Regions from separate parts of the Homo sapiens genome. Here regions 1, 3, 4, 5, 6 and 7 are each linked to region 2. Evidence: promoter capture Hi-C in 16 types of primary human blood cells and fetal thymus (Javierre and others, 2016). All regions are on one chromosome and are shown on one strand. The core of a region is centred on a gene start or on the middle of the fragment in contact, and the rest is flanking DNA. Distances in the headings are between cores, read along the strand shown. Region 1 overlaps DLEU1 (deleted in lymphocytic leukemia 1). Region 2 holds the start of RNASEH2B (ribonuclease H2 subunit B). Region 3 overlaps DLEU1 (deleted in lymphocytic leukemia 1). Region 4 overlaps DLEU1 (deleted in lymphocytic leukemia 1). Region 5 overlaps DLEU1 (deleted in lymphocytic leukemia 1). Region 6 overlaps DLEU1 (deleted in lymphocytic leukemia 1). Region 7 overlaps DLEU2 (deleted in lymphocytic leukemia 2).

What was found. The method cuts DNA at HindIII sites, captures the fragments that hold promoters and counts their contacts. A CHiCAGO score of 5 or more calls a contact.
Region 1: a contact is called between a fragment that was not itself captured here and the fragment with the promoter of RNASEH2B in region 2, in 2 of 17 cell types (total CD4 T cells and M1 macrophages). The highest score is 5.3, in total CD4 T cells.
Region 3: a contact is called between a fragment that was not itself captured here and the fragment with the promoter of RNASEH2B in region 2, in 7 of 17 cell types (fetal thymus, monocytes, neutrophils and 4 more). The highest score is 8.7, in fetal thymus.
Region 4: a contact is called between a fragment that was not itself captured here and the fragment with the promoter of RNASEH2B in region 2, in 4 of 17 cell types (neutrophils, total CD4 T cells, monocytes and 1 more). The highest score is 6.5, in neutrophils.
Region 5: a fragment that was not itself captured here is called in contact with the fragment with the promoter of RNASEH2B in region 2 in 5 of 17 cell types (total CD4 T cells, total B cells, endothelial precursors and 2 more); the score reaches 5.8 in total CD4 T cells.
Region 6: a fragment that was not itself captured here is called in contact with the fragment with the promoter of RNASEH2B in region 2 in 1 of 17 cell types (M0 macrophages); the score reaches 5.1 in M0 macrophages.
Region 7: a fragment that was not itself captured here is called in contact with the fragment with the promoter of RNASEH2B in region 2 in 6 of 17 cell types (naive CD4 T cells, monocytes, naive B cells and 3 more); the score reaches 7.6 in naive CD4 T cells.

The regions. Positions count from the first base shown.
Region 1 is chr13:50,189,209-50,192,847 of GRCh38, forward strand. All of the region lies in intron 2 of DLEU1 (deleted in lymphocytic leukemia 1), which reads left to right. Among named protein-coding and RNA genes, the nearest start is that of DLEU2, 65 kb to the left of the region's middle. The HindIII fragment of the contact is 223 bases long and covers 1,578-1,800 here.
Region 2 is chr13:50,907,172-50,911,373 of GRCh38, forward strand. It overlaps RNASEH2B (ribonuclease H2 subunit B), which reads left to right and starts at 2,620. Exons shown (of 11, transcript NM_024570.4): 1 at 2,620-2,969. The coding sequence starts at 2,906. It overlaps RNASEH2B-AS1 (RNASEH2B antisense RNA 1), which reads right to left and starts at 3,541. Exons shown (of 3, transcript NR_046552.1): 1 at 3,312-3,541. RefSeq lists silencers at 2,435-2,864, 2,875-3,114, 3,325-3,374. The HindIII fragment of the contact is 8,311 bases long and covers 1-4,202 here.
Region 3 is chr13:50,138,371-50,142,410 of GRCh38, forward strand. All of the region lies in intron 2 of DLEU1 (deleted in lymphocytic leukemia 1), which reads left to right. Among named protein-coding and RNA genes, the nearest start is that of DLEU2, 15 kb to the left of the region's middle. RefSeq lists an enhancer at 2,514-3,187. The HindIII fragment of the contact is 7,969 bases long and covers 1-4,040 here.
Region 4 is chr13:50,236,727-50,240,767 of GRCh38, forward strand. The region is part of intron 2 of DLEU1 (deleted in lymphocytic leukemia 1); the gene reads left to right. It overlaps LOC124900337 (a long non-coding RNA gene), which reads left to right. Exons shown (of 2, transcript XR_007063796.1): 2 at 1-2,618. Among named protein-coding and RNA genes, the nearest start is that of DLEU2, 110 kb to the left of the region's middle. The HindIII fragment of the contact is 2,738 bases long and covers 1-2,719 here.
Region 5 is chr13:50,154,827-50,158,731 of GRCh38, forward strand. All of the region lies in intron 2 of DLEU1 (deleted in lymphocytic leukemia 1), which reads left to right. Among named protein-coding and RNA genes, the nearest start is that of DLEU2, 31 kb to the left of the region's middle. The HindIII fragment of the contact is 2,044 bases long and covers 1,615-3,658 here.
Region 6 is chr13:50,209,505-50,213,321 of GRCh38, forward strand. All of the region lies in intron 2 of DLEU1 (deleted in lymphocytic leukemia 1), which reads left to right. Among named protein-coding and RNA genes, the nearest start is that of DLEU2, 86 kb to the left of the region's middle. The HindIII fragment of the contact is 2,423 bases long and covers 123-2,545 here.
Region 7 is chr13:50,064,481-50,068,156 of GRCh38, forward strand. DLEU2 (deleted in lymphocytic leukemia 2) reads right to left here. Exons shown (of 14, transcript NR_152566.1): 5 at 3,617-3,676. Among named protein-coding and RNA genes, the nearest start is that of DLEU1, 16 kb to the right of the region's middle. The HindIII fragment of the contact is 6,390 bases long and covers 1-3,676 here.

The DNA of each region.
Region 1 (3,639 bases), core at 439-2,938, 720 kb before region 2:
TGGGTGCTTTTGTCAAAGAGGTATATTAATCTCTTGATCCCTTTCCTCTGCTTCATCTAACTCGTAGGGGATATACTTTATATTGCTGTGCTTGGCATCAGCAACTGATGTGACAGCTCTTCCTCTGTTCTATGAAAAGGTGATGTACTTTAAAAAAAATGTTTCTGTAGAAAGTGCTTATATCCACTCAATAAAATCTCTAACAGGTCTAGCTACTTTAAAAGGAACAGTTAGGAGAGATGTTTTGCTTGAATGATAGTTTAAAGAATTCCTGTGTTTTTTCCCATTAGCTCCATCTAACTTGGGTTGTCTCAGAGAAATCCACTGGAGCTGATCTTCCTCAGTAAGATGTCTTTTGGTTTTGTTTTATCATCATTCCTCATCTGAGAACCAGAGAGAGAAAGCTGTCAACAAGTTATAGGTTCGTCCAGTTGGTGGAGCTGTTTGGGCCACAGCACAGGGACATATCTTTTGGGTGGCAAGTTCTAGGTATGGGGCTCTTTCATTTGCAGGTGGCTTATCCAAGAGGGCTGGAGATGTAGCTCCTAATATTCTTAATCCAGTTAACCGGGATGCTAACATGTTGTACTGATGTTACTTCTGTGGCAAAACTTCTCAGAGATCTTGGGCCCAGTAACTGGTCCAAAAGAAAGACTTGAGAGGAAGAATGGCTTTACCTGAAGTCTATGGTCATTCTTATTGCTGTTTTTTGTGCGTTCAATTCAGACTTTCAGCTTGGTCACTGTTCTTCTCTTCTTCCCCTTCCTCTATGTGGTTGGGGACTGGAAAAGGGTGTCCTAGTTGTTCGAGACCCTATCCTGGACTGCTCTTTGCTCCTATCTATCCAACTTCTCAAAGTTCAGCTTTGCTTTTCCTTTCCTGCCTTGTACTCACCCCTTTGGGCTAATGAGATTCTCAGCTTTTTCCAAACGCTGACTCTTCTCTCATCTCTAGGTCCTTTGGGTAAACATCTCTTCCAACCTTGATCTAATTTTTAAAAAACTGCCCCTTATCACTAATTTTAGAAGCAGCAAACTCATTATATAGTAATTTAGATTAAAATATATATATAATTATTGTATTCCTGGATTTTGTTCTTTTTTTCTTGTTTAGTTCTGAATTTTGCTCCTCTAGGATATTCTTAGTAAATCTCTAAGGAAAATGCAAAATCTGCCACTAATAAAAGCAGCCACTGACATGGATGGGATCTAGGGCGAAAGCAAATGGGGAAAAATGGGAAACTTAAAAAATAAGAGAAATGCCTTTTTTTTTTTTTTTAAAGCCAGAGACATGATCTTGCTGTGTTGTCCAGGCATTTCAAACTCCTGGGCTCAAGCAATCCTCCTGCCTCAACCTCTCAAAATGCTGGGATTATAGGCATGAAATGCCTATTTTTGAATGGATACTTTTAAAATTATCTACTTATCTAGTATGCTCCCAGCATCTGAAGAGCAGATAGGATTCATTGATGAAAGGGTGAGGTGGTTAAAACATACAGGAGGCCAAGACTAGTAGTTAGCCCTGTGTAGGTATCACAGGATTACTTGGGTCAGAGACTCAAGCAGAAGTCTCTTTAAAGCTTTTCTAAATGATAAACATTGTTGGAATGGGGTAAAGTTGTTCTACTGCAAGAAAACTCTTCATCAGAAGAAATTAAGAATTAATTATCCTTATCTAATTAGACTAGGTGTTTCTCAATAACAAGAAAAAGTAGTTGCTGCTTGCATTGCTTTTACTCTGGCACTAGTATAATGCAGTCATTATTGGTCATAAAGCACTCTAAAACCAATTAATTTGTAAAGCTTATTTTGACAAGAAGTAAATACAAAGGTAAGGCATAGTTAGCATAATGCTGCTATCATGGCACTCTTGGGCATAATTTATATACATAAAAAATACAAGGGCAAGTATAACTTTCAAGCTGATTGCCTGTAAAAGACTTAATTGAAAACAGTTTTCTGCTTTTAAAAAGTGATTTATTTTAGATGTGCTTTAAAAAACAAAGGTCTTATTGATAACCATTTTGAGTATATTATCTCGATGTGGGATTTAAGTAAAAGGTCAAATCTTATAGAAGTATTTTTGGTATGACTCAATTCTGATCACAGATAAACTTTATCAAGAAAATGAAATTAGTTAAACATTTTCATGCCTGAGCACTAGTTTAAAGAGGCAGCAATTTTTTTTTTTCACAAAGACTTCAAGAAGAGAACTTTGGTTGAGAAACCTAGAAAACAAAGAACTCAAGATGTTATCGTATAAATGTTCTTTAAACAAGTTAATATTATGAGAGGGGAAAAGCATTAGATATGTTTCACTAGAAGAATAAACAATTCACATGTGTAATTTTTGCAGTGGATAGACAAATCTCAGATCTTTTCTGCCTGATATCATTTGCATTTATTCAGCTTATTCAAGTAAAAGACTTATATTTTATTTCAGAAAAGCTAACATGGAACTTTTAATTTTACATTTAAGTCCTGTTTAGTTGTAATTCTCACTCCCCCAGCCCCTGTAGCCTCCTGAACAGCTCTGACTTGCTTTTTTTCTGAATCCAGCATCAGTCCTACAATTAGTCCATTGGCCAGGTGATGGTCATGTGCCTGGTTAGAGTAGGGCAGGCTCCATTTGCTGATGGGCTGTGCGACTCAATGTTCACAAATGTTTAGTCATTCAGCTCCTTTTCAAGGAATAAGCCTGGATCAGGCAAGTAATTAACCTTTGCTAGTCCCAAGGTTTGTTCATTAGAGGCAGGGAAGGAGGAATCTTCTCACTTTTCTTCTCAGTCCTACTGCTCGCCCCAGCTTTATGAAACATGAGCTATGTCCTAAGGGAAGAGCAAGTGGGCCTCAGGTCCTCAGAAAGCACCACAAAACTCTTAAAATATTAAGCGTAGGAGTCTATTGTTCCTTTGTTTTCCTGGACAGGGAAACCTCTTTAACATTGGACTTCATTGTCTGTACCCCATTTCCTGTTCTTACAGTGGCTGTTCAGTCAGCATGATGGCCGGTGGGACCTGGAGGTCCAGCAGCAGCTAAGATGTCCAGGCCCTACTCGTTTGTACCCCTGGTAGCATTCTGCCTTAGATATGAGAGACACTTCCCAGGCTCTTCCTGCATTTCCATCTTATGCTCTGGCAAGCAAATGCCAATCTTGGCTCTTTTCCACTTAAAATAGTCCTTCTACTTTTTATCTGCTGTGTAAATTGGGGTTAGAAATATTGACTTAAACTGCACCAGACTCTGCTGCCAGCTTGCCCATTCTCCATTACCCAAGTCTTCCTCCCTAACAGAACCCAGAGTTTGTTCATATATTGGCAGCAATGTACTCAGCCCGGGCAATGGATCTTGACTGGTTTCAGCCAATCAGAATATCTTCTATTAAGGATAAGGATAGCTTCCCTGCAGCTAGGGGTGGCTGAGTAACCTTGTTCTGACCAGTAAGATTTAAGCAGCAGAAGTCCACTGGGAAGAAGGGAATGGGGAAGGAAGACTCCTGGGAAAGCTTTTGTGCTCTTAATAAAAGAGCAGAGAAACTGCTGTGCTGCTTGCCCCTTCATCTTGGCTTGAAAACAAATGTATTGCCTGGAGCTGAGGCAGCTATTTTCTGACCATGAAGTAATAAGCCTTATTGTTTGAC
Region 2 (4,202 bases), core at 1,370-3,869:
GGTCAGGCTGGTCTTGAACTCCTGACCTCAGGTGATCCGCCCACCTCGGCCTCCCAAAGTGCTGGGATTACAGGCGTGATCCACCGTGCCCGGCCTCATCTGTTGTTTCTTGACTTTTTAATAACCACCATTTTGACTGCCATGAGATGGTATATCATTGTGGTTTTGATTTCCATTTCTCTAATGATCAGTGATGTTGAACTTTTTTCATATGTTTGTTGGCCACATGTATGTAAAGACACCCATTTCTTTATGTGCTTGACATGGCCTTAAATATGCATGTATCCTTGTAAATTACATCGTGTTGTTCTTTGTGCCTTTTAAATTTACCTACATGGTATTCTGCTAAAAATAATTTCCTGCATCTAAATTTTTTTCTTTAGATACAAAGCATCTGTTTGTATATGTACACCAATCACTGTGTCAAACTGCTGTATACATAGCCCATATACAATACACATGGTAGCATTATTTATAATAACAGTTTGAAATAACCTAAATACTGCACACTAGGGAATGGATAACTAACCCTAGTACACCAGCTGTGTTAAATATCATGCCTTCATTAACAATGATACTTCTCGATATGAAGGGGCACATGCTTATGACAATGTTAAGTGAGAAAAGCAGACAAAACAGTCTAAATTGTGACAACAACCACAAAAATATACATTAATACAGCCAAGGGCTAGAAAGGATCAGAGAAAAATGAAACAGGTATGTATGTCTGAGCAAGGGAATCATGGGTAACATTTCTCATGTACAGTAGCTCCCCCTATTCGAAGTTTCGCTTTCCAAGGTGTCAGTTACCCCCAGTCGAACTTGGTCCAAAAATATTACACGAAAAATTCCAGAAACAATTCGTAAGTTTTAAATTGTACAGTGTTCTGAGTGGTGTGAAGAAATCTTGCACCATCCAGCTTCGTCCTGCAAAGGACCTGAATTCTACCTTTGTCCAGCGGATCCACACTGCAGAAGGTCCCCTCCTTATGAGTCACTTAGTAGCTGCAAGAGTAGTGATGCTGGCATACTGTGAGAATTGTTCTATTTTATTATTATTGTTGTTCATCTCTTACTGGGCCTAATTTTCAAATTAAACTTTATCACAGATATACATGCAAAGGAAAAAACAGTATATTAGGGTTTGGTACTATTTGCGGTTTTAGGCCTTCACTGGGGGTTTTGGATCCCATCCTACAGGAATAATGGGGTGCTCCTGTAGCTGTTAGTAAGACGATGGTGTGCCTGGGGATTTGTGCTATACACCACAGCATCTTCTACAGTCGTTTTGGGGGAGAGGGAAGATCAGAGCAGTACCAATCTGCTGCTCCTTGCCCCAAAACTGGCAAGAGGCGCCTTTCCTCAGCCAGAAAGGCCTCTTCTCCACCAGCTGTGTCCTGCAATCAACTGCAGCTGTATTGGTCTCACCCCATGGGAAACAGGTTTGAAGTTAAAAACCTTTTCAGAGGGCCGAGATAAATTTAGTGCTGCTAAATTTAACTATCTTCAAGATTAAACATGAAAAGCAAAGTGCATGAGTTATGTATATTATTCTTTCAATTGTGCAAAAATAAGACATTAACTTGTTTTTGCATGGAAAAATTCTGCAAGAATAGAGAAGAAATGTTAACAGTTACCCCTGGGATCTGGGATAAAAGAGATACATCATGCTTTTCTTTAAAAAAAAAAAAAATAGGTTTTTGTGGATTTTTTTGTTTTTGTTTTTTTTGACAGAGTCCAGCTCTGTAGCCCAGGCCAGAGTGCAGTGGTGGGATCTCGGTTCACTGCAACCTCCATCTCCTGGGTTCAAGTGATTCTTGTGCCTCAGCCTCCGTAGTAGCTGGGATTACAGATGTGCACCACCACACCCAGCTAATTTTTGTATTTTCAGTAGAGACGGAGTTTCACCTTGTTGGTCAGGCTGGTCTCCAGCTCCTGACCTCAGGCGATCCGCCCGCCTCGGCCTCCCAAAGTGCTGGGATTACAGGCCTGAGCCACTGCGCCTGGCCCGTGCTTTTCTCTAAAGTATGAAAGGAATATGTACTTTCTTCTTAAAAACCATGTACCAAACAACACTTTTCAATTAAAATGTTATTTTTAAAAGTTTAAATCCCCAAATTTCATGGCTCTAACTTTTTAAACATCACTTTTTAAATAAATGTCTAAGTTTTTAACTCAGTATACAGCGTTCTCCAAAACAACAAATTCATATTCTGAGCCCAAAACTGTGCACCTCTTTTAGTGATGAGGACGGAGTCCAAATTGAGGACATCCCTTGTAGCTCACAATGCACACATATTCTCACATCAATAGCAACACAGAATGCAACTGATGACCAATATATATTCACAAATAATTGAGGACCATGGCTAAGAGTTGCATTCGGATTCCGATGTGACTGCTATTGTCCTTAACACGGACTAGCTCCAGGTGAGTCCCCCGGCCCCGGGGGTGTGGCGGGCGTCACCCGTTGTCCGGGCACACACCCCGCAGACCCAATCCTAGCCCGCTGGCTAGACCATGGAGGGCCGCTGGGTGCAGCCACAGAGCGCGGGGCCCCGGCGACCCCGCCCCGCTCCGCGTCACTCGGCGCCCTGCGGCGCGCGATGAGCACCTACCACTAGCGGAGCCGCGAGGGAGAGGCCGCGGCCCCTTCCCGTTGCCTGCGGCCACCGGCCGGCATTCAGAGCCCCTCGCCTGGCGCTAAATTTAAAAACGTAACACGAGCAGCAGGCTGGTCTCGGAAACGAAACGAAATTCGGTCCCTGGGCCTCCTCCCGGGCGCTGCCGGTCCCTCAGCGCGCCGCGCCACCCGGAACAGACCCTTCTCCCGCCATTTTCGGCGGGGCTGGGAGACTGAGGCCCGCGGCGCTGAGCCTGCGGCGCCCCGGAAGAGGCGGGCGGCATGGCCGCTGGCGTGGACTGCGGGGACGGGGTTGGCGCCCGGCAGCACGTGTTCCTGGTTTCAGGTAAACACGCGCGCCCGGGCGGCGGGGTCGGCCCAAGAACTGGCGGAGCGGCCCGCGACCCCGGGCGCGCCGCCCCCCACCCCGGTGGCTCCCACTACCCGGCCCGGCGCGGGATGGGATTCTCTCTGGGACAGCTGGCCCCGCATTTTGGTCACACGTCATAGCAAGCCGCGGTTTTCAAACCCGGAAGCGCCGAAAAGGACCGAGCGTGTTTCCCGGGCCCTGATCCCCGGTGGCTCGGGTGGGAGGGTGGAAGCCGACTCAGCCTGAGGGGAGCCACGCGGGTTCGCGGTCACCGGTGCGCTGCGGGCCCCGGAGGTTTCTGCCCTTGGTGTCCCCTACCTGGCAGCTGGCCCTGCTTCTGTGATCCTACTGGGTTGGAACCAGGGATCCAGTAGGCTCGAAGTGGCCTCAGACGGTGCGCAGTTTTAAGAAAGCAAAGGGACAGGCCTGCAGTGGCGAGGCAGGAGGGAAGCGGGATGGGAGTCGCGGTTAGGCCAAGGGTAGTTCAAAGCGATTCAGCAGGATGATGACCACAGGAGTGCTGGAGCCGGGCCTTTCAGCCCCCGTGTGGATGATGACCGGCCATCCAGGACATGCGAGGGCTTGGGACAGTGGACAGCCAGTGCCACACAAGGAAGGACCGATTAAATGACACAGTTAAAGGAATTTGGCCTAGGGAGTGCAAGCCAGAAAGGTTTGGTCTTTTTATATATGTAACATTGGAAAAAAGGAACATCTCCTGTTCCCTGTATTAAGTTTTGACTTTAGCTCAGCAAATGCAGTGTTTGTGGCAGTAAATATACTCTGATAACAATATTCTTTCCCAGGAATTTAGAGTTTTATGATGGTTATTGAAAATGTTTACATGACAGGCTGTCAATAATATTTTTTGCCTCTAAAAATAAAACATACATAAAGTGTACGGATTTTAAGTATGCAACTCACTGAACTTTTCATACGTATACACCACCCTAGTAACCATCCCCCAGTTCAAGATGTAGACTGTTTCCAATAACGCCTCATGCCTGTTCCTAGATAGCCCCAGGAACCTCTATGCTGACCTCTGTCACCAGAGATTAGTTTTGCCTGTTTGAATAAGAGTGTACCCTTTGTGTCTGGCTTCTTTCACTCTGAAAGATTCATCCTTGTTGTGAAATTCATTCATGTTGTAGCAGTTGTTTGGTTGGTTGGTTAGTTTTTTCATTGCTGCTTCTGTTTAATTGTATGAGT
Region 3 (4,040 bases), core at 910-3,409, 770 kb before region 2:
TTTATTCAAATGAAACTTTAACAAAAATCTAGTATATAAAGAACTGCAGTAGCTGAAGAAGATGGATGAGGAGGAGGGACGCCCTGACAACCACCAGAACAGCCATGCATTCAGTAGACTGAGGGGCCTGGCATCAAGTCTTGCCTTCTGTGTATTCCAGGTCTGGAAATAGGCAGCCACATCTGAGGTGCACAGTAAGTATATGATGACTGACTGAATAAATGAATGAAATGCCATCATTTTGCCTCTAAATGTAATTGAGGAACACAAAGCCGCTAACATTTTCATTAGTGAAAACCAAGGTAATGAATCCATTTAATAGCTCATTTTCATCACCAGATTCTTCTGGCCACTCACGGTCCTTACTTGCCTTCTTTGAACATGAGCTTATGAAGCATTTGGTTTTTACAGTCCAATTTCCTCTAGGACTGTTTCCATTTGACATAATCAGGAAAAGTACCCACCTGAGTTCAGGAAACTTGGTGAAATTCAGGCTGCATTTTAGGGGGTGAGTGGTGGGATAGGACCAAGAGGGAAAAAGAAAACAATTTTCTTGTAAGGATCACACACGGCTAATTTTAAAAATAAAATTATTCATCTAATTATATAAATAATGTATTGTCATTGTAGAAAGTTTGGAAAATACAGGAAAACCTAACGAAGGAAATAAAATTTACTTTCCCTGCCATCACCCAGAGATAATGCTGTCATTGATGTCTATCCCTCCGTTCATGTCTTTATGAAGCAGGATAACATATATAACATCCAAATATGTTTTAACTTGCTTTTATGACTACATAATATATGCAAATATTTTATGTTGTTAAATATTGTTCTAGAACATGATTTTTAAATTTCTGTATCATCACCGATGGAAGAATGTACCACATTTTGTCTAACAAATTTCTTTTATTTATTATTTATTTATTTATTTTTTAAATTTTTTATTTTATTTTATTTTATTATTATTACACTTTAAGTTTTACGGCACATGTTCTTATTGTTGAAAGTTTGACTTATTTCCCCTCTTTTTTCTATTATGAATAGTGCTACATTGAGTATCCTGTAGTCTGAGTGTGTGTCTGTTTAGTATTTATGGCATGCTACTTATTTTTTTATTTTTATTTTTAATTGTTGTGGGTACATACACAGTAGGCGTATCTATTTATGGGGTACAATGGCATGCTACTTTTTTTTTTTTAGACAGGGTCTCACTCTGTTGCCCAGTCTGGGGTGCAGTGGAGTGTGATCACAGCTCACTGCAGCCTCAACCTCCTGGGCTCAGGTGATCTTCTCACCTCAGTCTCCAGAGTAGCTGAGACCACAGGCATGCGCCACCACACACTGCTATTTTTGCATTTTTTGTAGAGATGGGGGTCTCACCATGTTGCCCAGGCTGGTCTCAAACTCCTGGGCTCAAGTGATCTGCCCGCCTTAGCCTCCCAAAGTGCTGGATTACAGGTGTGAGCCATTGTGCCTGGACGGCATGCTACTTTTTAAGGCTTTTGATGCACATGGGCAAATTCTAGAATGGCTGTACTGAAGTAGACATTGTGGACAATGCATTTGGGTTCTTGTTTCACACACCAGAGCTTCACTTTTCATCTGCAACGGCATTCTGACCATTTTTAATGAGCATTAGTTATTTGACACTGAGCATACCACTTTCCTAACTTTGAGAAGAAAGAGAGGTATTAAAGTCTTGGGTGTGGCTGTTTTTCAGAATTTACAATTAAAAATCTATCTCAATATTTTGCTGTCTTTAAAAAGCAGTGAAGTCTGAGGAAGGATATTAGTGGATTCAGTGGCTGCTGTTCATAATGCCTGCAGGACATTTTGAGTGTTTCCTTCCTGAGTTCAGAGCCTCATCCTCGCATCTCAATGAGACATTACCCTAGAACCTCTACCACCATGACTACCAGCACTTCTGAATTGAAACTGTCTTTGGCTGTCAATTTGCTTTGGGGACCTTTTCTAGAAGTTAAATTCATTTTTGTGGAGGCTAAAACTAGTCACTCGATCACATTTGTGATATGAGTCATGTTAGAATAAAGATCTAGAAGAGTGGTAGATCCTATCTAACTTGCACAATAGTAGAAAGTGAGGTACAAACAATATTTCTCCTAGTCCCTCTGAGTTCAATCTGGATTTGAGATTTACTTTTCATGATCTGACACAAAGTATGTGTGTGTATGTGTATTTTGAAAAATTTGGACAGGAGTCCCATATGATGTTGAATTAATCAAATATAAATACACACACACACACACACACACAGACACACACAAACACAGAGACACACACTTTATTCCATTAGGGAAAGTATGCTTTCTTTTTTTTCTTTGCTCACAAAACTGAGAAATTGGCAGAATATTTTACTTGTAACTTGGCAGTATTGCAATTTACAGACGAGAAAGGCAAGCCAAATTGGGTGAAAATTGTTTGAGATTTTTTTTCCCAGTTTTAGACAGTGAAAATCATGTAGCTGAGCGTGCACATTCAGCCGTTTTCTGCTTGATTTTTAACCGCGTTTGTTCATTGGCACTGCCAGAGCTAGTTACAACTTCCCGGTGCAAGCATGTGATGGCCAGGGGAAGGTGTGGGGATTCGTGGCTGTCCTCCCCATGCTGTTAATGTTAAAATAACTGTTGTTTGAATTGTTTTGAGATACTGATTAGAGAAATATGAAATGTGATATTATTTGAGCTTCATAAATCCATCTTAATTATCAATATATAAACACAGACTTAGGAGTGGGAGATCCAGATCAGACATGTTTACAGGCCTGAGCTTTTTCCGTGAGTTTCTGGAACATTGTGGTGCCTGAGACACAGCGGGAATCCGACGACTCTGAGAACGGACTTTCCCTTTTAAATGCTGGAGGCTTTGAAATCGTCTTCACAATGAGGGAGGATTCATGAAGTAATGAAAAGCTGTTTCCTCTTTAAAACGTTCAGACAGCAGCACAAACATCTGGGAATTTGTTTGAATATTTGGGTTCCCTGAATTACCCATTTCCTTAACATACATTTTACTTACTTTTCCAAGGGAGATACATTTCCACCTCATGTTTTTCCCAGTTTAGCTGTGTTAGGCTCTTCACTTTAGCATTTAGGTTGCTTTGTATTTAAGGACACAGGTTAAGGCCGTATTATGAAAGGTATGATTTGGGTTTGGGGGAGCAGGATGTTGTTATGCGTGAGGGGCAAAGTGATTTTTGTGTGTGATACAAGTTTCAATTACATCATGGTGTCATCCTTATAAATTAAATTTAAAAACAGTTGTGCCAAAAAAATAGCCACTAATGTTTCTTTTAAAAAATGATTAAGCAACAATATTTACTCAATATTTGAATTAAGCAAAACTGTCATCTTCTTTCTCCTTTTCAGAACATAATTCCTCTTTCAACTTCAGAAGTCATGAGACTTCCCTTTCTTTCTCCATTCTCTTCCTCACACTGCAGTGTCTCAAAGGGTGAAAATGTCTGTGTGTGGGAGAGGGTGGTGGTGGTAGGGCAGTGGTCAGAACATTCTGGAATCCAGGATAAGAAAAACCAGCTTGATTTCTGCACTTAGGACATTGTTGATGTTTATTTAGGGATGTGCTATCTGGATTGATGGAAAAATTTGGAAATACTTAAATATTTCGGTATGTAATATCGGATGATGAGACAGTGCAGCACTGATAGCTTCCTGGTTGTCAGTGTGGCTCTGTATCTCTGTTTTACTTGTCATATTTGTACTAAGACAGGTGTGGTTTTAAACGGTCAGTATTGAACTATTTTTGACTAATTAGATGCGTTACGTGTGACTTGCCAGTTTATAATTAGTTAACATATGATAAAAAATATGAGATATATTGATTGGTATAACTATACTAAATATAATTTAATCTAGTTGACTTTTTTAATAGGCATTTTAGGATACCACAATTACTGCTGTGAACTTCAATGGGTTATGAATGACAATTGTTACTCTGGAGCATCAGGCATGTAGAAAGTATAGGGATTGGGCTTAATACAAATTTAGTGGCATAACCTG
Region 4 (4,041 bases), core at 101-2,600, 670 kb before region 2:
AGAGTTCAGAAAAGGCAAATGACCACCTCTTTTTTTAAACCAATATGTCTTTGTGCAGTAATTTTCTTGTGGCAAGTGGCATAATCTGGGCGAAGGTAGTGATAAAACTCAGATATATTTCAAGAAAGCGAGTAAACACACTAATGACAATATTCGTATATTACATGCATCTGCTGCTTATGTACTTAAAAAAACTAAATAGGAAAATCTTACTCATCTCTGTAGAAAAACAGGGTAGAGATTACAACTTGGGGACTTCGTGATATTTTGTCTGTGTGCAGTTTGTCAGAAGGCAATTTATCTAAAGCTGGAAAAGGATATGGTTTGGCTGACTAAACTGTGTAGTGATACGAGTGATACGTAATGATAAAAATGCTTAGGGGAATTTTCGGGGCGCTCAAGTCAAGTGTACAGTGCTGTGTGGGTGTAAAAACCAGACTTCTCTCTCTGTGAAAGTTGCTGACATTTTATACCACATGCTGGACCGTTAAATCACAATTTACGTGGTCACTTGTAAATACGCCTGGTGGTGGAGGGCGAGCTTGTTTGTGCACACTTTGACATGCTTCCCTGTTGTGTGCCTCTCCCCTTTTTAAATTGCACTGGATACTTTTGTTCTGGAATCCTTGGCTGTCTAACCTGAAAGCAGTTTGGGTGAGAACTCTGGAACTGATTTATTTTCATAGGTGCTCCCTGAGGGGAGGTTTGAAGGATAATGCAGAAAAGCAAGCCTTCCAATCCTCCAACTAAAGTTCTCTAACTTGCTATTAACATGATTTCAGGCTTGCTAGAGTGCCCGAAATTCTGACATGAAGGGATTCCTTCTTCCACCACTGGGATTTGGAAGTCCCTAGGATGTTTGAATGGGGCATATTATTTAAACTCATTTTCAGTCTCCTCATTGGTAAAATGGGGCTACTCATACTTATCAAAGAGGGTTTTTGTGGAGATCAAATGAGACAATGCAAGTCACTTACTTGATATATGCTTAATAGTGACAAACATAGTGATATATATATATTAATAGTGATAGTTATTGCAATTTTTCTTTTTGTTAGGGGGAAGAGGAGGACAAACAGGCCTTTAACATGGTGGAGAATTTGTTTCCCTTCCAAATACAGTTGGAGGATTACAGAATTGATGCTCAAAGAGAAGGCTTTGCTTTCATTGCTTAAGAGGGTTTCTTGGAGAGGTTCAGCAAGAGAAACACAAAATGAGATGTAGAAAGGGGATGGGGAAGGAGACTGCATACTAATGTGTTTCATTTCCAAGTGCTTTAACTTTTCTAAGCACTAAGTCATCTGCTAACTTGTCTTCATAATATATGGGTAAAGTTGGCAGGGTGGGTATCCCTTTCTACGGGTGAGGAAACTGGAGTGTGGACAGATAAACTCACCTGTTGTCACACAACAAATCAGTGGTACAGTTGGGATTAGGACCCATGTCTCATACTCTGAGCACAGCAGTCTCTCTATTAGGTGACATTCTCAGAGTTCAATAATTTCTTTCACAGTTTTGTGTTCAGACCTGGGGTCCCCATTGCTGAGCCTATTATTGGCACCTTACAAAATATCACATATGAGAAAGGTTGTAGTCTCTTGGTCCAAAGGACTACTTTCACCTGGAGATGGTTGGAGTTGTAGTATCTGAGTTAGATAAGTTTTCACTTCACGGTCATGGGTGGAGGTCTTTCTTGGACTTGGGCCAGGAAGAATCACTGACCAGGAAGGTCACACAAGGCCTGAGTCCTTTCTAACACCATCTGTGCACTGTATTTCAGGGCCTAGTGGCTGCATTGAAAGGAATGGAAAGTAGTTGCTGGTTATGTTGAGAAATATCAGGAAAGTGTGATGCCTTTCTCCTGTATTCCCTCTTCCCTCCCTCATTTTTTCACTTTATTGATAAAAATAATCCCAAAAGATCAGAGAGGGGTTCTATAGGTGTTAAACCACTGTGTTATGACTTGAACTACAAAGCCCTTGGGGGCATTCAATTTCCTCATGTTTTGGGGTAGCAGCAAAATTTAATTTTAGGTAGAAAAGGGTTAACTTAGGGGCAATGTAATTCCCAAATTATCAGTGTGAAAATCATCTAACTGTATGTGAAAAATCCAATAATGTTAAAGGTAATTATCTGGGAAAGTAAAAATAATACACAGGTCTTTGGCCAGAAATAAGGATTTGGAACATTTCTCTATGCATAGAGAGTTCTCTAGTAGGCAAATTTAGATTCATGTCAGTCATTAAAGGTCCCTGTGAAGTATTTAGTTTATCAATTTAGCGCTACATTTTTCTACAAAGAAGAGTTGGAGTGGTTTAGGTAAGAACACAGATATGCTAAAACCAAACCAGATGAACCCAAGACAGAAACTAGAAAGAAGGCAGAAGGAGAGGATGAAGATGTAGCAGTGAGAAGCCTGTTGGAGGAAAGTTTGAGTCAGTGAATGTAAGCACTTTAGCTTCCTTGTGGCCTGGAGAGCAGGTATTTTTTGGCTATTTTCTTTTTTTATACATGTATCTCCAGCACTAGAAGAGTGCCTGACCTGTAGTTGCTCAATCAATACTTGCTGAATAAAAATATATGAAAATCTGTCAAATAAAGGGTTTAAAAAAGCTGGACTAAAATGTTGAAAATGATTAAAGCTGGGTGATGGGTTCATGGGAGTCTACTAGACTATTCTCCTCTACATTTGTGTGTGATTGAGAAATTTTATAACAAAAGCTTAAAAAAATAACAAAGAAGACTAGACACTGTAATCACTGGAAATAACCAGACATTAAAAAATCTTTGTTTCCCTTTTTGTTACAGGGCAAGCAAGTAAAAAGACATTTTATATTACTAAACACTATCATATGCTAGACAGTAGTAAAACTATAGTCCCCAAGTTTATCTTTGAAGGACTCCAATGGCAAGATTTTTAATAAACAAAGCTGATCATCTCATCTGTATCATTATTTCTTATTATCACTCTATTATCATGGACTCCCAGGAATCTTGGAGATGAATTTGTTCACCTCCTCTAAGAGGAATCATCATCATTGTCCACTCCCTGTCAGCACTTTTTTTTGAGATGGAGTTTTACTCTTGTTGTCCAGGTTGGAGTGCAATGGCATGATCTGAGCTCACTGCAACCTCTGCCTCCTTGGTTCAAGTGATTCTCCTGCCTCAGCCTCCCGAGTAGCTGGGCCTACAGGCACGTGCCACCACGCCTGGCTAATTTTTGTACTTTTAGTAGAGTCAGGGTTTCACCATGTTGGCCAGGCTGGTCTTGAGCTCTTGACCTCAGGAGATCCGCCCGCCTCAGACTCCCAAAGTGCTGGGATTACAGACTTGAGCCACCGCACCCGGCCCACTATTTTTTTTTTTTTTTTTTTTTTTTTTTGGAGACAGAGTCTTGCTCTTTCACCAAGACTGGAGTGCAGAGGCACAATCTTGGCTTACTGCAACCTTCACCCCCTGGGTTCAAGCAATTCTCCTGCCTCAGCCTCCTGAGTAGCTGAGATTACAGGCACTTGCCACAATGCCTGGCTAATTTTTATATTTTCTAGTAGAGACGGGGTTTTGCCACGTTGACCAGGCTTGTCTTGAACTCCTGAGCTCAAGTGATACTCCAGCCTGGGCCTCTTAAAATGCTGGGATTACAGGCATGAGCCACTGTGCCCGACCCCTGTCAGCAGTTTTGCTCTTCCCCTCTCTCCCTCCAGGCCAGAGGCCATGATCTACATCCAACTTCTCTGCAAATTCCTGAACTCTGACTCGATTGTCCCTGTCAATCCTGCCTTTGTGTCTTCCCTTTGAACCTCACTTTCTGATTCTCCTGGCTTCTCTTCTTGACTGTCCCTTCTTGTCTTGCCCCGTTCAGGTGTAGGAACCTGGCCTCAGTCCTAATGAGGCTCCTTCAGGATGCAGCCTCTGTGAGCTGCTTTTGGCTTGTCATGTAACAGCTCTGGCTAGGACTGTGCTGTGTAGGGAGTACCGTCCAGGCACCCAGGGTTGCTGGTCATTACTTTCCTCCTGGCCCCCTGCCCTTTGGGTATGCAT
Region 5 (3,905 bases), core at 1,387-3,886, 750 kb before region 2:
AAAGTTGGGTCAAAAGGTGGAAACATTTAACAATTTGATAGTGATAAACTTGCTGAGTTGGCTGAGTTTATGCTCAAGTCATACAAATTTACATTATCATCAGCAATACACAAAGGTGTTTGTTTCCGCACATTCCCCTGCATGCCTACATTGCTGTCAGTCTTTTAGAGTTTGCCATCCTGATAGAAAAATTGCTGTACTGGTTTTCCTTGCATTATTTACATTACAAGCAAGGCTGAGCATCTCTTTGTATATTTATTGGCCATTAGGTATTTCTTTTATGCATTGTCTGTTCTTTGTCCAGTGGTTTTGTCTTGAAACACCAGAGACCTATTTTATCTTAATGAAGTCATTTACTTTTATAATTCTATCATATGCCCCCAAACAGGGAAAGATGCATCTTTTAGGTGGGTATACTGATAAGTGAACTTGTGTGGACCCGTAGTTCTCATTTGTCAGAGGTAGCAACGTAGGGAATTTGAATATTTTTACCTCTAGGTCGGTGTCTTTTTTTTTTTGTTTGGAGATGAAGTCTCACTCTGTCACCCAGGCAGGAGTGCAGTGGTACGATCTCAGCTCACTGCAACCTCCACCTCCCAGGTCCAAGCGATTCTCCTGCCTCAGCCTCCCGAGTAGCTGGGATAACAGGCATGCGCCACCACACCTGGCTAATTTTTTTTTTTTTTTTTTTTGTATTTTTAGTAGAGACAGAATTTCACCATGTTGGCAAGGCTGGTCTCGAAATCCTGACCTCAGGTAATCTGCCTGCCTCAACCTCCCTAATTGCTGGGATTACAGGCATGAGCCACCGTGCCCAGACCCAGTGTCTTTTTGTGTGAGGACCACTACTAAAGTTTTAAGAGATTTCTTAAAAAGGCAATCGTCATTCTGAGGCAAAGATTACCAACATCTGGATTCCAAAAAGTGGGGAAAAATCAGTTATTCATATATATTAAAATGACACACTTCATTTCCAACTACCAAGTACAATGTTCACCTTTATTCTGTTTGTTTTCGCTTTGTCGTGCTACTGAAATATGTGTGCATGTGTATTTAACCAAAGAGAAACTCACTCCTAACCCCATATTTAGTGGTGGGACCATCCCTTATTTAGTGAGGCTGTTTTTTTTCCCCCCAGACCCGAGTTGTTGTTGCCCATGCTGCTGAATTCCCAATATGAATAAATCATAATCATATGATTATACTAAATCAGAGGTTTCAGTACCCTTCCACAAAGTGACAATAAAATGCTCATTAAAAAAAAGAGTAGGTTGTGTTCAATGGTGTTAATTTAAAATTTTAATGCTCAGGCCAAAATGCCAGAAAGTGAACCTCAGTTTCTTGGTAATAATAAGGTGAACTGGCTTCCAGCAGAGAGATTTTGTGGCTTCTGTATCCTGCCGCTGCACTTCTCCCTTCTCCAGCCTCCTTTCTATTTGGTGGTGCAGAATCACCTTGGTCAGCCCTTTGACCTTGCCTGGAAAAAAGTCCTCATCAGTGAGTGAGTGTGAGGTTAGAGTGATAAAGATTCTAAAGGAATGCCTTGTTTTGATTCAAATAGTTGGATTAGTCACAGAGTTACTTAATCCACACACATAGTAGAATCCTCCAGCAAGCTTCTTTGTTTTCATCAGAGCTTTTGAGAGATTATTATATTATATCTCTATCTTTTAAAGATAGAGTAGAAATCCATCTATGAAGAATAGTTTTAGGTGCATTCCTGCCTGAACACACATTTGGACAGTCTTATAATTATGTATCTTCCCGAGATGCATTTTGAGCCATTTCTACCCAGAACTTAAAAAAATATTTCCTATGAGTGCTGGAGGTTCTTGCTTCTCTTAACCCACTAACTTTTTGAAGCCATAAGAATATCTTATTAAGGATTATGCAAAATAACGTCCTACAAATCCTGATATTATTACACTGCCCAAAAAACTTCAAAGCATCAGGAAAGTGTTGTGTTTTTTTTTTTTTTTTTTTTTTTTTAACTAAACCAGATTCAGCTGGCTACCCCACTTGGCTACAGAGTACTAAAGAAGAGACTGAACTTGATCCTGCTGCCCTTGCATACACAACACTCCCATTGACGCTAGTGAAGACTTAAGCGCATGAAAGGATTCCAGGATCAAAAGGTTAGCTCTATGGGGAGCTGTGTCTGGCTCAAGCAATCCATTTTTTTCTATTGACAGTGAAAACGTTTTATAGTTCTTTTTCAAAGTTTTCCCAAACTTTTACAATAACAGGCAACTTGTGAAAAAGTGAGAAGGCATCTAATTGAACTATATCCAGAGGAGATCATGGCAGAGACCAACAGGAAGAAAAACATTTCCAAACCACAGCGATATTGGTCAAATCAATTGTATTTGAAGAATAAAGCATTTGAGGCGTCGGCTGAGAAAAATTTTCATTATGAAACTTGGTTGGACTATGAAGCAGAATGTGAGATAAAATAAAACACAGAGCTCATGAGTTTTTATCTTTGTCTGCTAATGACTTATGCTAGCAGGATTATACTTTTTTTTTGCATTTTATGAGATGTATGAACTAGGAAGAAAATACATGCTATATCTAAATGGATTAGACGTGCAGATTCTTAACTAACATTTAATTCATTGCTAGTAAAACAAATGCCTTAAAACATTTAAAAAAGTGAAATTATCTTAAGGAGATAATTAACAAGCAGAGTAGAATAGCATTTTTGAAGAAAGTGTAATATGGTTCTACACTGGCATTTTCTGCATTTATTGAAGATACTTAGTCTATCCAACAATTCACTCATTCATTCTTTCATGAAACCCTGTCTCTACTAAAAATACAAAAAAAAATTAGCTGGGCACGGGGGTAGGCCCTTGTAGTCCCAGCTACTCGGGAGGCTGAGGCAGGAGAATGGCGTGAACCCGGGAGGCAGAGCTTGTAGTGAACCAAGATCGCGTCACTGCACTCCAGCCTAGGTGACAGAGCGAGACTCCGTCTCAAAACAACAACAACAACAACAACAACAACAACAACAACAACAAATTTCTTTGTGCACTTACTATATGCCCAATGCTAATCTAATAGTTTTACAAGACCTCAATTGAACAAGTGTCTGAGGAAATGGATTGCATCTAATAAAGCAAGACACACCAACTGTGGATGGGTGGTGTGTCTAGAGTATTTTGCATTCCTAAATCACTCTTCTGGAGAAAATTTGTATCAATAATTTTGTCTAGCTTCACCTGGAGTTACACATTTTGATTGGTAAGTGGCTTCTGTGATTTGCCTCTTAGAAATACATTATAATGTTATCCTAATATATGTACTAGGACAGACAATGCTACGTTGAACTAACTTGAATAGCATATTTTATAATCATAAAACTGATATAATATTATAGTTTTGATCTTAATCCTCCTCTATTGTATGAGCAATGGAAAGTCTTGGTGAGGAGCTTGTCTAAACATTTCTCTTGCATTTTCACATAATTGGGCTTGACAGTTTCCTGCCATTGTATAGGATAACTTCAGTTGATGGTGATCATGTTTTTGCTTAAGGGTCATTGAATTGTATTAGAAATTTTATACCATATTCTTGTAATCCTATAAGTCATTTTTGAGTTACATTATTGAAAGTGAACAATAATGTACCACAAAACAAAAGTTACTCATGCAGTTAAAGCTTTTTTTTGTACCTAGGTTTAGAAACTACAAGTCCACAGAGAATAGGGCTCGTGAAATAAATGAAAATACACGCTCATCTCCACCCACTCCTTGTTGTTGGGGCCTGGTCAGATCTGGTGAAAACATTAAGCCATTTGCCTTAAGTGGTATTGGCAAGTTAATTTATTCACCTTCTGGAAGGTACCAGGCTAGTGCTTGCAGAGGCAAGATTTTTTTTGGGTGAAGGGAGCAAACTTTTCCACT
Region 6 (3,817 bases), core at 84-2,583, 700 kb before region 2:
GTTAAAAAGTCTTTTTAAAATTTGTTTATTTTTTATTTCTCTTCCCTCTTAGAGCGTAAAAAGTTTTAAGAGGGTTTTTTGTTTTTTCTTGATATTTAAAATTTTGGTTTGATGCTGAGAAAAGCTTTCCACATACTAGGCACGTAATAGATATTCAGTATTATGTGATCACAGGAAGTAAAATAAGTTAGAGAGATCAGAGAGATTATTCTGTATTTAAAGGATTGAGATTTTCTACTATTTTTAGCCAAAGAACAATATGCAACCTTGAGTTAAAAGATTCCTTATTACTGATTGGGAGTTTGACTGTTTTGCAAAAACTGTGCTTGCCACATATTGTCAGATGATGATGAAAAATCTAAGTTTAGGCTTGACATATAGTGAATTATGTGGCTTTTCCCCAACTTGAATAAACATACTTAAAAAAAATCCCACTGGTTTATTTGTCTTCATGTAGCTTGCTTACCTCACAAGGTTTATTTCAGTAGTCATTTAAAACCAAATTTCTGAATTCTTACATTGTATAGAAATATCCCAGGAACCATTTTTGGGTTGAACAAGACTTTTATATTAGTTCCCCAGTCATAACAATATTTTCTTGAAGTTACAGTAATATATTCTTGAAGGCATAATAATACATTCTTGAATATATTATTGAAATTCAACTTATATGAGAATATGTTAAGAATGTATGAGAATATATTAAAGAATATATTGAATGGTGGTATTACTTATATATTATTTATCACCATTTCTGGATATAGTGATATGCTTTTTTTTTTTTGAGACAGGGTCTCACTCTGTCACCCAAGCTGGAATGCAGTGGCAGGATCGCGGCTCACTGCAACCTCGGCCTCCTGGGTTCAAGCAATTCTCATGCCTCAGCCTCTCAAGTAACTGGGACTACAGGTGTGCACCACCGCACTTGGCTAATTTTTGTATTTTTTGTAGAGACAGGGTTTCACCATGTTGGTCAGGCTTGTCTTGAACTCCTGACCTCAAGCAGTCTGCCCATCTTGGCCTCCCAAAGTGCTGGGATTACAGGCGTGAGCCACCATGCCCAGCCTGGATATGGTGATATGATGTTTAGTTAGCCACAGCCTCTGGTGAGGACAGTTGACTAATTTAAAAATGCTTGGCACACACATGAGCATTGTATCCTGCTGAGAGTCTTCCACAGATTTGTCCTTTGGTCTAACTTATATTTCTCTAGGTGAAGTTTACACTCATTTCTTTTTGTTCTACCCTTATCGGTGACTAAGAGACCAGCTGTATTCCAACTTCTGAATACTGGCAGAATTCTGAATCAGTAGCTCTTCCAAAAGGGCCTAGCTTACCTCAGAGAATCAGTCTGACCCTTGTGTCCTTGTCTCCTCTATGGAGAACATGGAGTTGCTTTTCTTTGCAGTTGGTTGTAGCTTAAACCATAGTGCATTGCTGAGTCGTGTGATGTGTGATTCATCAGGCCTCAGGTGACAACGGTGGATTTCCTTCAGGAATGAGTAGCAAACATTTTGGCCCCTCTTTGGGTGCCAAGCACCATGAGGTAAGGGAGTACTTTACAGACCCCTAGAGATCCACGGGTGCTCTAGATATAGCCATATTTCAGCCCCTGGATCCTTTGTTAGTGCCATATTAGGAGAATGCCTGTGGAAATGGCTTCTTTTCTCCACATAAGGCTTTTCTTTTTCTATTTTTAAAAATTTGGACCACCAGGCAAGAACACATCAGGAATTTTTCTGTTTAATTTGAACACATGTGTTAAGAGGCAGAGTATAGAAAGTAGTCTGAGACTAGAGAATCTAATGGAGTAACTAAGAGGGTTTACACCTAGGATATTGGAATTAGCTATGTCCTAGGCTATAAATCTAAGGTATCTTTGTTCTAAAATGAAACATGACACAGACATGACAGATGACAAAGAGTACACTTTATTGTAGATCCATATAATACTGAGAAAATTATTTTTCTGCAAATCTCCTTGGAGATCAGGATGGGGTTGAACCTCACCTGAACCTTAAGTCATGGAAAGTGAAGGAGAATTTTAGGATGGCATACAGTACAATGATCTTTAAAATGAACTGCAGGGCCAGGCGCGGTGGCTCATGCCTGTAATCCCATTACTTTGGGAGGTTGAGGCGGGCAGATCACGAGGTCAAGAGATCGAGACCATCCTGGCCAATATGGTGAAACCCTGTCTCTATTAAAAATACAAAAATTAGCTGGGCGTGGTGGCACGCGCCTGTAGTCCCAGCTACTCAGGAGTCTGAGGCAGGAGAATCGCTTGATCCCAGGAGGCGGAGGTTGTAGTGAACCAAGATCGTGCCACTGCACCCCAGCGTGGGTGACAGAGCAAGACTCCGTCTCAAAAAAAAAAAAAAAAAAAGAGAGAGAGAGAAAGAAAATGAACTGTAGAACACTGATGTTCTTCTGGCAAGACCAAGTTGTTTTGCCACTAAAATATTGGAAAAATAAGTGTCTTTTCTTGATTTTAAGAAAAACACTTTCCCAGAATTATGTATGCTTTTCTCCCAATACTTTTTAAAGCTTTGGTGTTTGTTTCTGTACTAGAATCTAGTGTAAGAAAGATCTGACTGAGGGCACATGTTCTCAGGATCTCCTGAGGGCTGTGTCACAGGCAAAAACGTGGAATAAAATAAAATAAAATATCCAATTAAGCATAACACATTAACTTTAAAAAAACCTAAGTGTAGCAGTATTTAATAGTGTTTTGCAAAGATGCTGTTACTTTCATGACACCTACCACCTGAAGAAGTTTGAGAAGGACCAGGTTCTAATTGTGCAACTGCCATTAACTAGCTAGCTGTCCTTGGATAAGCCTAGAAAAGCTGCGTAAAGGAGGAAGGATTTGAATTGGACCCTGAAAGAAAGTCAGATCTTAGAAAAGCAGAGAGGGGAGGGGGAAGTTATTTCTAATGAGAGAAGAGGAGGGTAAGGAGATCAAAGACCTAAGAAGTATAAAGTTTATGTGGGTAATAGAGAGAACATCTGCTTGCCATGAATTTCTCTTGAGTTTTTTTGGCCCCAGTGTAGAACTAGTGTCTCTGTTCTCTGCTGTGACCTCACCTGGAAATGTCTATTAGTTTATCATGCCATGCTGGATTAAAGAAAAACCACAGAGAGAGGAGTTCAGAGATTTATGTATTATATAATACATCATAATTATTTTTATTTAAATAATTATTTTTATGAATTAATAAATTAGAAAAGAATCATTTGTATTATTTACGTGTATATCTTCCACCTGAAGTATGTTTGGCAATACATTCTCTCAGCTTTCTTTTGTCTGAATCTGTCTTTATTTTTGAAGGAGTTTTAAAATTGGATATAGAATTAGACATAGAATTTTAGGTTATAGCTTTTTTTGCATTGTTTTTGTGAGAAATCAGTGGTACTTCAAGTTATTGCTTTCCTATCTGTAATATATCCCTTTTCTCTGGCTGCTTTAAAGATTTTCCCATTATCATTTGTTTTCAACAACTTGATTATAATGTGTCTTGGTGTTTGAGTCTGTGTATTTATTTTACTTGTGATACATTGAGCTTCTTAGAGCTAAGGTCTTGCAGCAATCCAGGGAGCATTTATTCAAGAAAAATGGCTGATTTTTGGTAAAAAATACAGAGCTTTGTGGTGCTTTAACTTGTCCTATTACAATCCCCTCCTTCTCCAACTCCATAGTAGCCTTGAAAATCAACAGCCCATAAATCACGATGAAAACCAGCAGGCTGGTAGCCACATGAGAGGGAAGAATAGGGTTGGAGTTCCTTCAAATCCCCATTCCTAGAGACTTTTATTA
Region 7 (3,676 bases), core at 355-2,854, 840 kb before region 2:
AATTTAAGTGTCTGTATTCGAAAATGCAATGTGAAAAATAAAAATAATTCAAAAAAGAAAAAGAAATAAAGACATATAATTATTTCTGAATTTTTTGTTAAGCAGCGAAAGTTTAAGATCTCTAAATTGAAAAATAAACTTGAAAAATACTCCATCTCTATATTTAATTTGTAAAAATGAACCCCAAACTGCCATTGTTTGACAGGATTGTATACATGAACATCACTGTTCTACAACTTCTAGAACATCCACATTCCACAAATGAACAGCTTTAAAAAAAATCCCATCTTAGGCAGGGCAAGGTGGCTCACGCCTGTAATCCCAGCACTTTGGGAGGCTGAGGCGGGCAGATCACCTGAGGTCAGGAGTTCGAGACCAGCCTGACCAACACAGAGAAACCCTGTCTACACAAAAACAAAAAACAAAAAACAAAATTAGCCAGGCGTGGTGGTGCATGCCTGTAACCCCAGCTACTCAGGAGGCTGAGGCAGGAGAATCACTTGAACTTGGGAGGTGGAGGTTGTGGTGGGCCGAGATCATGCCATTGCACTCTAGCCTGGGCAACAAGAGCGAAACTCCATCTCAAAAAAAAAAAAAAAAGAAAATACATCTATCTATCTAGATATCTAAAATCGATCTATATATAGATATCTAAAATATATCTATATATGTAAATATATATTATATATAAAATATATGTAAATATATATTATATGTAATATATATTATATATAATATATGTAAATATATATTATATATATGTAAATATATATTATATATAAAATATATATTATATATATGTAAATATATATTATATATAACATATGTAAATATATATTATATATGTAAATATATATTATATATAACATATGTAAATATATATTATATATGTAAATATATATTATATATAACATATGTAAATATATATTATATATATGTAAATATATATTATATATAAAATATATGTGTGTATATATATATATATCCCATCTTTTTTTTTTTTTTTTTTTTTTTTTTTTTTTTTTTTTTTGAGATGGAGTCTCACTCGGTCGCCCAGGCTGGAGTGCAGTGGTGTGATCTCGGTTCACTGCAAGCTCTGCCCTCCGGGTTCACGGCATTCCCCTGCCTCAGCCTCCTGAGTAGCTGGGACTACAGGCACCCGCCACGACGCCCAGCTAATTAAAATATATATCCCATCTTAAAAAATAAATGGCATTAAACAAACATTAAAAAAATGATAGAAGGGGAACACACAATCACACACAGCATCACTGACTATTGCCAGTCACTATGTACCTATTATTCTGGGTATTGTTTAATTGGAAACATCACCATTTTAGAATCTAAGATTAAGGGGAATCTACCTAGAACAGACAACAGAAAGCATTCCAACTATGAAATATGATAAATGGCCTATGTTTAAAAGATGCTGGAGAGTATCCAAGAAAGACTGCTAGCTTAGAAATTTATAAAGGAGATGAAATGAAGAATGTGATATTATCTGTGCTTATGTATCTGTTAGAATTCAATGATACCTATTTCTTGTTGAAAAGTGGACTGCCCTCCATTCTGAGTGTAGTACGAATTAAAAAGACTTCTTTTTTTAAAGAGTTAAGTTGAAGAAGGGCTGAGCTGGCTTCCAAGGCACTAATTAAGGAATCCAAGCCTGTACTATATAGGATTCTTTAGGGATCTGCAGATATTTCCATTCTAATTTTCCAGAGACAAAAATGTAACCGGGAGAAAATTAGAAAAAGAAAGTGACCTGTGGCATTTGACTACTACTTTGCAAACTGGCTTATTATTAACAGTTTTCAACATTTAATTGATCCCCCACTTAAAAATTCTCACCTTATTGAGTTCAATGGCTGATCGTCTATGATCATAAGGCCATCCCCAACATATACACATTATTTGAGTCACTGTGAGATAATGTAATAAAAGCATCTGAAGCACTAGTTTCATTTAAACAGAGACATGCCCTCAACATCAAGAATAGAAAGTCTTGCGCTTGAGTTTTTCTTTAGAGATGCAGAATTAGCTCAAGGAATGGATGGAAATGACATTTTTTGGTAACTGATTTTAAGGTCTCGAATACTTTTATGGAAATAAGTATCCTGCGCATTTTATATGCCCTTGATCTTGTGAGTTTTTCTAGAGGCATAATATTAATTTCAGTTAACTTGTTAAAATTATTCTTTCAGAATTTCTAAGTGTCTCAAAAGTTAAATGAATTGGGGAAAAATGTTTCTTATTCTAAAAAAGAGGTATGCATGTATATATATAAAAGGAAGGAAAAAGGAGAAAAATCCTCTTTTTGATATTTGCAGGAAATATCTGAGGTTTAGCTTGGGAGGCGATGGGGCAATCCAGGGCGAGAAATGATGTCTTGAATAATTAAGGTGACTACTCCTGACCTTCAACTAAACAGACTACCTTCCTGTCTACCCTGAAGGTATCACTTTGGTGTTGCTATCCACTGATTCACTTCTGCAAACTTCCCTGACAGAAGAAAGGAGGACTTGCAGCTGGACACTGCTCCCTGGCTCTTCGGAGCGGTTTCTTTACACTATGCATGGACCACAGATCATCTGCTGCCATCCTACTCAGGGAGAGCTTGCTAAAGATGCATGGTCCTGGCCCCCACCCAAAACCTCTGACTTTGAATCCATGTCAGAAATCGTTTAATTTATGTACTTACTTGTTTATCTGTTTTGTTCACTGCTATATCTTTGGCTCCTAGAAAAGTACTAGGAACATGGTAGATACTCAATAAATATGTACTGAATAAATGAAAAAAAAAAAAACCAACAAAAGAAAGGGAAGGAAAAGGGATTGCCTTCATGTTTCTCCCACCTCCTCAAGTTGTTTTTTTTTTTTTTTTGAGACGGAGTCTCGCTCTGTCTCCCAGGCTGGAGTGCAGTGGCGTGATCTCGGCTCACTGCAAGCTCCGCCTCCCGGGTTCATGCCATTCTCCTGCCTCAGCCTCCCGAGTAGCTGGGACTACAGGCGCCCGCTACCACGCCCGGCTAATTTTTTTATTTTCAGTAGAGACGTGGTTTCACCGTGCTAGCCAGGATGGTCTCGACCTCCTGACCTCGTGATCCGCCCACCTCGGCCTCCCAAAGTGCTGGGATTACAAGGCGTGAGCCACCGCGCCCGGCCACCTCCTCAAGTTTTAACAGCTAAATGTTAAGCTCTTCACAAAGAAGTCTCAAGTGTAACCTAATGAAATTAAAAACAGACTTTACAAAATCATTTCTCAAGTGGAGAGAATACTCTCAATTTATAAAACCATAAGACCAATAAACCTGAATAATGAGTACTAAAAAAGACAATTACCTATTTGTTAATTCCTTTGAAGGAAAAGGGCTCAAAATTGTGATTCTCAGACTTGGAGATTATAGGGCCTGGGTATAAAATACTTCCCTAAATAACTTACCAAGGCAATGGCATTATTCTTGCTCTAAACTATTAATTAACATCAAATCTCAACGTGTAGAGGGGCTAGGAGAGGTTAGAAAGTTACCATAATAGGATAAGCAGGGAAAAAAATCAGAAATAAACCAGAACATGACACCAAACAGTAATAGGGAGACTCAGAGTTAATACTTACAAGGTAAGAATTGCTGAGCTAAGTAGAGGTCTCTTTTATTGTGGTCTTCATTCTATCATT